Regions from separate parts of the Homo sapiens genome. Here all the other regions are linked to region 1. The links are contacts of gene promoters, found by promoter capture Hi-C in human tissues and cell types (Jung and others, 2019). All regions are on one chromosome and are shown on one strand. The core of a region is centred on a gene start or on the middle of the fragment in contact, and the rest is flanking DNA. Distances in the headings are between cores, read along the strand shown. Region 1 holds the start of FAM181B (family with sequence similarity 181 member B). Region 2 has its middle 33 kb from the start of FAM181B. Region 3 has its middle 14 kb from the start of LINC02734.

Region 1 (4,205 bases), core at 24-2,523:
CAGTCTGGAAAGAAGGGGGCGAAAGAGGCCAAATGGCCCCGCCCGTCCTCCCCGCCGGGAGAATCCGCAGCGGCGGGGTACAGGGGGCTCAAGGGCTCGTTCAAGGTCAAGCCGCCGCGGGGGGCAGTCAGGGGGCTCTTTTTGGTCGGGGAGCAGCCCGGGACGCTCCAGGGCTCGGGGTACAGTAGGTTTCCCACCACTGCCGGCGGCGGCTCAAAGAGGCCGGGCTCCAGCTCCGGGGGTCCCCGCAGTACGGAGGCTCCGGCGGGGAACACGTCGAGAGGCTCGGCGGCAAGCAAGACTGCCGCCTCCGTGCCGGCGCCGTAGTCGGGCCCCAGCAGCTCAAAGAACTCCACGGCCTCCGCGCCCTTCTCCAGGTCGCCCAAGCTCACGTCCGGCCCCGACGGGCCACACCCGCCGCCGCCTGCCCGGGACGGCTCCGTGAAGAAGGACGGAGGCAGATTGCGTGCCCGCAGCGGGACCTTCCTGGCCCCTGGGATCGCCGTGGCCCCCGCGGGGCCTGCCACGTCCCCTCCCGCGCCCCCAGTGCCCGCACCTCCTAGCCCGGCCGCCGGCGCAGCCACCTCACCCCCCGCCGGCTCGGCACCCCCGGGGACGTGGCGCAGCGAGTCGAAGAGCGCGGCCAGACTTCGGCTTTGCAAGCTGGCGGCCGCGGCGGCCTGCGACGCCTCCCGCCGGGGGGCAGCCTTGCCGTGGGCCGGGGCCGCGACTGTCGGGGCGCTAGGGGCGGCCAGCGGCCGTTTGGCTGGCGTGTCGGCGGCGCTCGGGGAGGGCGGGCCGGGGGGCGCGGCGCCCATGAGGCCGCTGCAGCGCTTGATCTGCTTCTGCAGGTACTTGCGGTGGTTCACCTTCCGCTTCGACTTGCCCGGCTTGTCCAGCGCCAGCTTGATGTTGCTGGACGCCGAGTCAATGAAGCTGAGTAGATCGCGGGTGGCCTCGCGCACGTCCCCTCCTTCGGCTCCCGACAGCAGCGCACCCGCCGGAGCCCCGGTCTCATCGTCCTCGAAACAGCAGCCCTTGTCCAGGGCTCCGAAGGCGCCCCCTAGCCCGTCCGGGGAGCCCCCGAAGCCGAAGGGCACGAAAGGGTGCGTGCTGAGGAGCGCCGCCTGCACCGCCATCGCCGCGGCTCCCGGGCTGTCCGCAGCGCTGCCCGTGCGCCCCCGCCAGCTCCTGCCCGCCGCCCAGACCCAGCTCCCGCCCCGGCGCGGCGCGCGCGGCGCAGCCTACTAGTTCCGGGCCTGGCTCGCTGCGCTGCCTCCCGGGGGAGCTCATTAGGTCTTGTAAGCAAGGGGCGGAGGGAGGGAGCGCGCGGCGACCGTCCCGGTGGTAGAGGGGAGGGGCTTACTTAGCCTGGCTTGGAGGAGTGGGGGGTCGCTTTAGTTTTCTGAGCTTTCTGAAGCTCAACGCCTTAACTCCTTCGTTTCCCTTTGCCCCGTGGTGTTTCTCTTGACTCCTCTAACCGCAAGGGGTGAGGAAGAGATGGCTGGTCTCAAACTCCAGTTCAGGCCCATGAGGCCGCTGCAGCGCTTGATAGGCTTCTGCAGGTACTTGCGGTGGTGCCTCTCCTGAGGCAAGAAGGCAGGAGTCTAGAGACGTGGGTTTCAGTCCAGCTGTATAACAACACCCACCAGCTTCTGGGCGCTTGCTTCTGCCAGGCGCTGTCCATCTATTATCTCATTTAATCCTTGAACAACAGCCCTGTGAATTACATGTTATCGCCATTCAACAAACGTGGACACTGCACCTCAGGGAGGTTCAGTGAGTTGGCCAAAGTCAGATCTAGCCCATTCTGACTCCAAAGCCATTCCTAAGCCCTTGACAATACTTGCGTCCTCTCTTGCCCTTGCCTTTCTCATCTATTAAGATGGGGAAGGAAAATGAGTATTTCTTAAAGCTCTAGACCTGATCCTAAGATTCTAACCTGAGTTTTCCCAGGATTCTCAAGCCCAGTGCTCTTTCTTCTTGACTGTTTGCCACTTGATTGTTACGAGTAACAATTGGCTAACAGTAAATTGAGGCCAGCAGTGGCCCATCTTTTATTAACACATAGCAGGAGGCAATGGAGAAAGGAGTCGATCTGGCTAAGCCCCCTGTTACTTGAGAACACTGTGTGTGTATAAAACTCTCAGCATGTTAGAATAAAAGATGGATTGGAACCTCTCCCCTACCTGTCATACCATTTAGGTTATCCCTGGAATTTTCATTGCATTTCAGGGATCATCATGAAGTTCACTTAAAACTAATTTCACCTGGGCAATCCTCTTTGGGATAGATAGAGAAAATGAGCAATAAGGTCATTTTCACAAGAGATTCAGAAGAGGCTTGGGTTCTGGTCTTAGCCACCACTCAATAACCTCATGACTTAGGTTGAAATCCTTGCTCTGCTGAGTGCATGGCTTTAGACAAACCAGCGTACTCTCTCTGTTTAGCTTACTCATGTTAAATGCAGGTAAAGTTGCCCTCCCCACAGGGCACTTGTGATATTTAAATGATACATTGTTCCATAGCCTGGATGAGTATTCACCCTTACTTCTCTGAAACACAAAAAGGTGACTATATCCCTTACGTGTCTTCTGGATCATAGGGTGTTCATGAGCATTAAGTGAGATCATAGATGCTTCTCAATTTGTGATAGAGCAACAACATCCTGATAAACACATTGTAAGTTGAAAATATTGTAGGTTAAAATGCATGTAATACACTGATTCAAGTTGGAAAATCATAAAGTTGAACCATCATAAGTTGGGGACTGTCTCTATATGAAAACACTGTGTGTGTGATAAAGTGTTCTCTAAATAAGTTACTCTAGTTTCGATACAGAGCTTGCATAGGAGAGACATAGACCATCTCTTTCAAAACTCTTTTTATTAAGCCTCACTTTGTAGATGTAGCGAAACCATTTTTGAACACCATGAAGGCACAGCCTTACCAAAGAAAAAAGGCCAGATGGGCCATCAGAGAAATACAAATCAAAACCGCAATGAGATACCATCTCACACCAGTTAGAATGACGATCATTAAAAAGTCAGGAAACAACAGGTGCTGGAGAGCATGTGGAGAAATAGGAACACTTTTATACTGTTGGTGGGACTGTAAACTAGTTCAACCATTGTGGAAGACAGTGTGGCGATTCCTCAAGGATCTAGAACTAGAAATACCATTTGAACCAGCCATCCCATTACTGGGTATATACCCAAAGTATTATAAATCTTGCTGCTATAAAGACACGTGCACACGTATGTTTATTGTGGCACATAGCAAAGACTATTATTCACATAGCAAAGACTTGGGACCAACCCAAATGTCTATCAGTGATACACTGGATTAAGAAAATGTGGCACATATACACCATAGAATACTATGCAGCCATAAAAAAGGATGACTTCATGTCTTTTGTAGGGACATGGATGAAGCTGGAAACCATCATTCTGAGCAAACTATCGCAAGGACAGAAAACCAAACACTGCACAGGTGGGAAATGAACAATGAGAACACTTGGACACAGGGTGGGGAACATCACACACCGGGGCCTGTCGTGGGGTGGGGGGATGGGGGAGGGATAGCGTCAGGAGATATACCTAATGTAAATGACAAGTTAATGGGTGCAGCACACCAACATGGCACATGTATACATACGTAACAAACCTGCACATTGTGCACATGTACCCTAGAACTTAAAGTATAATAAAAAAGAAAGAAAGAAAAAAGGCCAGATGAACATTTTTCATTTAGAAGATGAAGTAGCCACTTCCCAAACCCACATAGCTGAGCCAAACTTTTTATTTTAAATTCAAATTGGCTCAATTATCATGGACTTTTCATTTGAGTTACACACAGCATTTTGTCCTCCATGGCCGAACTGTCTGTTTTACTCTTGGTGGTATTCACATTCAGAAAATTGTGCAGACCTGTCACTGATTTGTGCTTCTTCCACTCCAGATGTGGATGTCAGCACTGCCCATCCCCTTTCCAACAGGGCCATTCCATAGGCTTCCAGGTCTGGCAGCCAAAAGCACTAACTTTTTTTTTTTTTCACCTTCTGTCAACTGAGCACTCTTACAAGTCCTTGGACACCAATTGCACAGTACTCTACATTTAATCGACATCTTATTCCGAAAAAACTCTTAATCCCCAGGGTTATCTAAATCCTAAAATCATATTCAAAATAAATGGAATATGAAAAG
Region 2 (4,386 bases), core at 499-2,998, 33 kb before region 1:
AGTGGCAGAGGTGCAGGCCCAGAGTCTGCCCTTCACAGGCTGGGAGTGGTGGGGTGGTGGGGCTTCTGGTACTTGTGGAAACATGACCCAGGAAGGCTCAGAGGTAGGGAAGGCAGTGTCCCAAGTGTGGTAACAGACCTGGTCCCTACCAGAGTGGCTGGTGTGGGACCCTTTCCAGTGACCTGTGGTTCTTTGAAAATCTATGAGTGTTACAGCCAAACCAGAGGCGTTCATCCTACTATCACAGACTCTGCTGTTCTCTCAGCTCTCTCAGAGCTACTTCCCCAGAGAGCAAGAGTGTTGTAAGAGGGCTGGGTTCTGGAAATTCATTAGGCCGTAGATAAGATAGACAAGGCCGTCAACATCCACCCCAAAACCTCTCCTTAACTCTGAATCTCAGGGAGAAAATGAGTGCAGGAAGGAAAGTTGGGAGATGTAGAACTCCCTGCCTCCAGATGAGCTTCTTACAACCATTGGCCTAACCCCTCCCCTGAACTTCCCAGTGACTCCATTACACCTTTTATCCAGGATAGGATCACAGCCTGGTACACATGTGCAGATTTAAGATGTGTCCCTCAAGATGTGCCTGTTCATGGTTGTATCAGTTGGCAGCTGCTTCCACTGAAGAAGAAAAAAATAGATACCCTATGGTAGGGCTCCCTTATACCAGCGATGTGATTTGTGCTTGAACAAGTGCACAAAGACAGCCATTGTAGCATTGTTCGTAAGAGTGAAAAATGGAAACAACCTAAGTGTCCATAAATATGAGACTGATTAAATAAATTACAGTATATGCATCCCATACAGTGCCTTGCAGCATTAAAAGCAATGAGGTAAATTTATGTTTACTGATGTGGAAAGATGTGTAAGATTCTTTAGTGTGTGAGAAAAAGCACACTGCAAAGCACTATTAAAATATGTTCCTTTATCATTTTAAGAGATTATCTACATTTTTTATTTTGACTTCCTTGTGTTATCCTAGAAAAGAGATTATCTATAAATGTAACAAAGACTATATGCCAGGCACTGTAATTCCTTTATACATAACTCATCTAATCCTCATAACAACCCTGTGGGGTAGGTGTTCACTTTACTTATAGGAAAGCCACGGTGTAGGGAGGTTATGTAACTAGGATAAGCTCATAAAGCTATAATAGCAGAGACTAAGAGTTATCATTGGAACCCAGGCAGGCTGGCTCCAGATCCTTGCATCTAAGCACCACACTGTTCTGCATTTTTCTGTGCAGGTGTGTATGCCTACATCTGTCTGGAAAGATACCCAAAAAAACTCTTAATACTAGTTACCTCCAAGGAACTGAAGGAATGAATGCAAAGAAAACGTTTACCTTCTCACTATATGGCTTTCTGTACTACTTGACTATTTTTATAATGAGCATACATTACCTTTACAATATACATTGTGTGTGTGTGTGCGTGTGTGTGCGCTTAAAGCGAGTCAGTAGACTTGGACTGATGGAATCATCCACCTTAGGCCTAATCTCACTGATACTCCCTACACTCATACACTAAAATTCTACTCAGGTTTTATTCATTCATCCATTAACATTTAAGCCCCACTGGGTACCAGGCATGGTCATTGGATGCACTACCCTGTTGAAAACCTTCAGTGACTTACTATCAGCCATGACTGTCTGTGATCCAGGCCCTCCCCACCCCAAACCCTTGCTACTTCACACTCGAACTGTATACTTTGGCAATGCCAAACTGTTAATCATTCCCTGCTCACCAGTGTCTGGTACTATCTTCCTTTCTGCACCTTCTTCATGGAGTACTCTCATCCAGCCATCCTCTCCCACCCTCCGATGCTGAACTCCTACTCATCATGTACTGACTCAGTTGAAGAAGCATCTCAGACAGGAAGCTTTCCCCAAGCTCATCACCAACACCCTTCCCCATCGAAGGTGACTTTGGTGCCCCTCCACCTGCTCCCATAAACCCTGCCTGAGTCTCAGTCCTAGGGCTTCACACATTGTTTTAATTGTCTACTCTGTGCACTTGTCCTCTTTGACTCCATGAGGGTGCTGTGTTCATCTTTGTTTTTCAGGCAACTAGCATAGGACCTAGCATAATGTATATGCCCAAAAATGTTTTGAAACTAATAATAGAGAATATTAAAAATAATAGCTAGGACTTATTAAATCCTATCATATGCAATATATTAATCTTAACCCTTTATATTTATTAGCTCTCAATTAATCCTCACAACAGCCCTGTAGTTAGGAATTAGAAAAATCCTCTTTTCCAGCTGAAGCCATTTTAAAGCACAGAGTGATTAAGTCATTTGTCTAAGTGCACACAGCTGAATAGCAGGAGTCAGAAATAGGCCCAGGGATGTGACCCCAAAACCCGGACCCAGCCCCTGTGCAACAGTCGCCTCTTGAATGGAAAGCTCAGTACCACCATTCAAAGCTTGGTTTTTAACTTCTCTCCAGCCTCCCCTGATCACTCTCTAATCTTTGACTTAGAAATGAAGCACCCATGAAACTTTTATTGTATGAGGCACATACAGGTGCCATTTCCTTGTTCCACCAAAGCTTCCTAAAGAGGACTCCAGATATTGCTCATTTCTGTTACCCTGGTGATCAGCCTAGAGCTAAAAACCCAAGAGCTGGCACTAAGGTATTTTCTGAAGCAAAGAAGAAAAGGAGTGAGAGAAGGAGCAAACAATAAGTCTTCCATCCTCCACCCCCTTTGTCACTGCCAACATGTACTCACATGTGTACATGCACATGTGTGTGTGTGCACACACACACAGCCCTTGGATCTCACCTCTTCCAAGTATTTCAGTGCCAGGGGAAAAAACCCCTTGAAAATAGCATCTCATCTTCTTTCCTATGGTTTTCTTTATAAAGAAAACCAAATGGTCCTATCATTCTGCCACAATTCCTAGCTGCAGCAAAGCACCTCAAAACTGACACTACAGCGCCACCTTTTGTTCAAAGGCCATTATGCCATCCAAATTGAACCATGCAAACAGGGTGGGAGTAAGTCTCCTTTGTCCAGTCTAATGAGTGTTAATAATCACACAAACACAAACATTGTTTTAAGAACCCCACCCCCTTACAATATCAAGGCATGGCAGGTACGGTGTGCATTGCTTGCAATTCACTTCAGTGAATGCCTTGTTGCCTGCTGCTGGGACTGTACATGTGGAAAGACTTCGGCTGTTAACAAATTGCCTCTACTACAGAGACCTGCCTCTCCCAAGGTCACGCCCTCCCCAGAGTGACCCACATAACAATGACTGACTGAGGCGGTAGTGTAGATGCTTGACCAACTTACCCCAGCTCAAGACCTCCGAAAGGCCATTCTCGCTCCAGATCTCCCCACAGGGTGGGCTGGGGCTGATATTGGGCCCATGTTGTTGGTCAGCTTCTCTCTCTGGCTAATCCTACTTCCAGTCTCTTCATTAGGTGTCAATCCTAAAGGCAGAGCTGAATAACCATCTCAGAATCTACTTCTGCAACACCACCTCTGCTAGGGAAAGCACCCCTGTCCATTCTATTGAAGGAGCATTTATTGAGCCTGCATGCATTAAAAAAGCAGACATGTAACGAACACGCACGTGTACCCCCTGAATCTAAAATAAATTTTTTTAAAAAGAGAAAAAGAAACAAAAGACCAAATTCTCTATTTCTGTAATCTAAAGCCCAAACTAGTCCATATGTAACTCTTAATCCTGTCAGATCAAGACAAGGGTGACTACAAATAAAAAAGGTAAATCAGCTAATATCCCAAAACCCTGTTTGAGTAACAACTGAACCACATAATCTTAGACTGTATCCATGTCATATGACCTACCATTCATGGGAAAAAGAGGTATGGAAGTTTCCCACTGGATTCAAAGGGTACATTTTGAACACATTTAGTTAAGGTAGAGAGGGAGAAAACTTTTCTCAAGGCAACATTTCATAACCCCTTCTTGGTTTTAGCTCCTTTTCATCACCACAGCAACTAAGGGCACTTTCAGGTAGGAATCAGCCACTATCAGCACCACTGTTTGGGAGAGACCCCAACTTACAAAAGAAGTGTGGCTTTGCCAAGCCCCCACAGAACAACCATAGCAGAGTGCATTCTAATAAGACACAGAGAAGTAAAGTAGTGGAGCGGGTTTTGTTATGCTCTAAACAGGTCACTCGCCTCTCTGGGTCTTCTTCATTTGCAGCAGGAGATATAATAGTAGCCATTTGATGGCCTGTGTGTCTCAGGTGCTGTGCTTGGGCTTTACTTTACACTTCACCTTACTTCTCTCAACTACTTAACAAGGCAGTTATCATTTATTCTCATTTTACAAATGAGGAAGTGGAGATTCAGAGAGGTTAAGTGACCTGCCCAAGGTTCCCCTGCTGGGAAGTGGCAGAGCTT
Region 3 (4,403 bases), core at 1,759-4,258, 35 kb after region 1:
TCTATAAGCCCCTGACTGACTGGGCCTTCTGTTTTTCTTTCAGAGATGCCCTGCTCAGAGAGGAGGAATCTAGAGAGGCAGTTTGGCTACAGCGGCTTTGCTGCACTGCAGTGGGCTCCGCCCAGTTCGAACTTCCTGGTAGCTTCGTTTACACTGTGAGGGGAAAACCACCTACTGTTTCTATTGAAGCACCAGTCACAATAGCCAAAATATGGAAAAAACTTAATTGTTCATCAACGGTCAAAAGGATAAAGAAAATATGGTATATATACATGATGGAATACTATTTAGCCATAAGAAAAAATGAAATCCAGTTATTTGTGGCAACTTGGATGCACCCGGAGGACATTATGTTACTTGAAATACGTCAGGCACCTAAAGATAAATACCACATGTTCTTACCCATATGTGGGGGGTTAAAAAGTTGATCTTATAGAAGTAGACAGCAGAATATTTGTTGCTAGAAGCTGGGAAGGGTAAGGGGTAGGGACATGGGGAGAGGTTGGTTAATAGATACAAGGTTACAGTTAGAAAGAATTAGTTCTAGTGTTTTACAGCACCGTAGGGTGACTATAATAAACAATTTATTGTATATTTTTAAATAGCTAGAAGAGAGGATTTTTAATATTACCAGTACAAAGAAATAATAAAGATTTGAGAGGATGGATATACTAATTGCCCTGATTTGATCATTACACATTGTATACATGTTTGGAAATATCATGCTGTACCCCATAAATATGTACAACTATTATGTATCAAAAATAACAAAAGAACAAATAAAAAATAAATAATATATGTTTAAAATACATAAAGAGATAAACCAGATTAGGTTAAAAATAGAACTACCATCTGATCCACCAATCACACTACTGGATTGTATGGGAAATGAAATCAGTATTTCAAAGAGATATCTGCACTCCCATGTTCATTGCAGCACTGCTTACAATAGCCAAGATATAGAATCAAAATAAGTCTCCAAGAATGGATGAACAGATAAAGAAAAATCTGGTATATACACACAATGGAATGCTATTCGCCATAAAAGGATGAAATCTTATCATTTGCAATCACATAGATAGACCTAAGGACATCATGTTACGTGAAATAAGCCAGACACAGAAATACAAATACCACATGATCTAACTCATATGTGGAATATTAAAAATAAAAGTTGACATCATAGAAGCAGAGAGTGGAACAGTGTAACAGTGGATACCTGAGGCTGAGGAGGGGAGCAAAGGAGGGGAGGATGGGGAGAGGATGATCAACAGGTACAAGCTACAATTCAATAGGAGCAAGTCTATTGCTCAGTAGAGTGACTATAGTTAACAGAAAGGTATTATATATTACAAATAGCTAGAAGAGAGGCTTTTTAATGTGCTTACCACAAAGACATGATAAATGCATGAGATGATAGGTAAACTAAGTACCATGATTTAATTATTTTACAACATATATATTCATGGAAACATCAAATTGTACCACACAAATATGCACATTTAAAAATCAAATTAAAAAAATTAAAACAACGACTATGGACAAATGAGCTTATGCAGCCCCACTTGCCCTAAGAGAAATATAGATTTATGATACCCAATTATAATAAAGATAAATATGCTGATTCATGTATACTTTATGCCTGCACTTTAACTTATAAACAGAGCTTCCTACCACTTTCAGTTTTAGGTCTCCTGGTTTGTGAACTGTTCTGTTGTATGCACAATACACTTTTTAAAAATTTCTAGTTTTCAGCTGGCAGCACCCAGATCAATAAACTGACTCAGCACAAGAAGATAGCTTGGACTCCCTATGATTTCATCTCTGATCTGACCAATCAGCACTCCCGGCTCACTGGCTTTCCCCCACCCACCAAGCTGTCCTTAAAAACTCTGATCTGATCCCCAAATGCTCAAGGAGACTGACTTGAGTAATAATAAAACTCCAGTCTCCCAGAAAAAAAAAGAAAAAATTCTAGTTTCATCTAATTTTATTCTTGACAGAAGAAAGAGAAAAAAATATGAGAGGCCATTATGGAAAGTGGGTAAAGGAGCATTCTAAAGGAACCTAATATAATTGCCAGACAGTGTCTCAGGTTTAATTGAAGTTGTTAATTACTAATTTATGTGAAATAAATCTGCCTAGTTCTCTGCTCTTAGATTTATGATCTTGGCCAAGTTACTTCAGTAAAGAATGTTAGTTTCATTATGTAAAATGGTGGTGATAAAACACTTACCTCTTAATAGTGCTATGTGGAACTTAGTGCTGCCAAACAGATTTCTTTCCTAGATATGCTACATATAAAGTCCCAGCTCAAGTCTCCTTCCAACTTCACTTCAATGTGTCCTCTAATCCAGCCCACCTCAGAACTCCAAGCCCTGAGTCCCTGAAGGGAAAAGCTCTAACCAGAGGTACCACAGATCACTAAAGACCTATCCCCCAGCAAAGGCAAAGGAAGAACTCCTGGAGTCCCCATCTATAAAGGAGGTCAGTTTTAAAGTTGAGGGAGGAGGAAGTTGAAGAAAGGGCCAAGTCAGTGGATTCTAGCACACAGAGAAGCTGTGGATGGACAGCACTATGCTTCTAGACAGGTGACCTGGATGAAAGAAGGACAGAGGGGCAAGGAGTAGACTTGCAGAGGTTAGGGTAAAAAAATTATGGTAATTAGAAGGTTTGGGGGCCTGTTTTCCAGAATTCTGAGGTAGGAAGTGTCTTCCTAGGTGTTTATATTTTTCATTTACTTACTTTAGGTATCAGTGGTCTTCAAACTAGTGTGTTACATACACCTAAGGATGTGAAAAGATTCTTCAAGAGTACTCAGATACTTGTAGCTCTAACAAGATATATATCCATATCCTAAATTCCATATGGGTTCTTTCCTAAAATTGATAATAGAGGCTCATTTCCTGTCCTAGGCTCTCATGATTGTCTTCCTTTTATTTTTTAAAAAAGCAAGGCATAGCCCTTCTCTTTTTCTTTCCCCCTTTTCCTAATCCTTTTCCCTTTCTCTTTATTTCCTTTCCCTTCTCTTCCTGAACAATTCACTTCTAAAGCATTTAGGTGAGGCAGAGCAAAGTAGAAGTCTGTCTTGGCAGTGCAACAATGGGTCAGGATGAAGAAGGGGAGCTGTAGTGGTCCACGGTCAGGTGTCAGAGCCCAAGCAGGGTGAGAGGTATTAAGCCTGGGAGGCAGCCTGATGTTGGCAAGAAGGAAGTTCATTGGACTGGAGCTCACTGTGGAGTGTCAGAGCCAGAGCACAATGAGGAATGGGGAATGACATGATTTGTCCAAGCAAGTAAGGCAGGCATCCATGGAGAGGGGAGGCCCAGCATGCAGTGTTGAAGAATGTGGAAGAGGTCATTCATGTAGGAGACAGAGATGGGAAGTTGGCTTTATACAGGGAGATGGATCAAAAATTAAACATATTAAGGATAAAAAGAGCCAAGATTCTCCCTTTCAGAGAAGACAGGTATAAATATTGAAATGTAGGGGAAAGAAACTAAAATAGTCCCTGCTATATTGGATTAGAATTGGAGGCTTTGCTATGAACTTTTGGTTTTCAATACAGGCAGACATATGTAGAAATATAGACATAAATGCGTGTTCCCTGGTCCTGTCCACTAAGAGAGTCTGGAAACAGCAGTAGCCCAATAGTAGTGAGCACACCTGGCACTTAGATCTTGACTCCTTGGATAACTGGCTGATTTTAATACTGATGAGGGAAAGCACAAAATGAGCCTGGAACATCTTTTGTGCCAGAAGAGACTTGCTCAAAAAATGATGAAGATTTGTCCAAAGGACTCAGAAGCCAGCTTGAGGAGGTTGCCACTCGCTAAATAGAGAACAACTTGAGCATCAAAATAAATAATGATCATGATGTATCATAATCCATTCAATAAGGCCAAGTGTGATGGCTCATGCCTGTAATCCCAACACTTTGGGAGGCTGAGGCGGGCAGATCACCTGAGGTCAGGAGTTAGAGACCAGTCTGGCCAATATGGTGAAACCCGGTCTCTACTAAAAATACAAAAAAATTAGCCAGGTGTGGTGGCCGGCGCCTGTAATGCCAGCTACTTGCGAGGTTGAGGCAGGAGAATCGCTTGAACCCGGGAGGTGGAGGTTGCAGTGAGCCGAGATCACACCATTGCATGCCTGGGCGACAAGACCAAGACTCTGTCTCAACAACAACGACAAAAATCAAATAAAATCGGATACCATAAATCCAAACAGACACTCATAGGTATATGACTAAATTAAAGATTTGTTAAGAAATTGAATATTTACAAAGCTTTAAAATACCTTTCCACAAATATGTATTTTGTGTAGTGTAAGAGTAATTTTACAGTGGATATGTAACTTGACAGAGGGTACAACTTAAGTGATCAGTGTAAACATCAATTAAG

What was found. Contacts are between HindIII fragments. The study calls those that stand out against the background at their distance.
Region 2: a contact is called between a fragment that was not itself captured here and the fragment with the promoter of FAM181B in region 1, in 2 of the 25 tissues and cell types used here (hippocampus and pancreas).
Region 3: a fragment that was not itself captured here is called in contact with the fragment with the promoter of FAM181B in region 1 in 1 of the 25 tissues and cell types used here (adrenal gland).

The regions. Positions count from the first base shown.
Region 1 is chr11:82,732,591-82,736,795 of GRCh38, forward strand. FAM181B (family with sequence similarity 181 member B) reads right to left here and starts at 1,274. Exons shown (of 1, transcript NM_175885.4): 1 at 1-1,274. The coding sequence starts at 1,139. The HindIII fragment of the contact is 21,418 bases long and covers 1-4,205 here.
Region 2 is chr11:82,699,089-82,703,474 of GRCh38, forward strand. No RefSeq gene overlaps it. Among named protein-coding and RNA genes, the nearest start is that of FAM181B, 33 kb to the right of the region's middle. The HindIII fragment of the contact is 4,112 bases long and covers 1-3,804 here.
Region 3 is chr11:82,765,562-82,769,964 of GRCh38, forward strand. No RefSeq gene overlaps it. Among named protein-coding and RNA genes, the nearest start is that of LINC02734, 14 kb to the right of the region's middle. The HindIII fragment of the contact is 3,483 bases long and covers 1,268-4,403 here.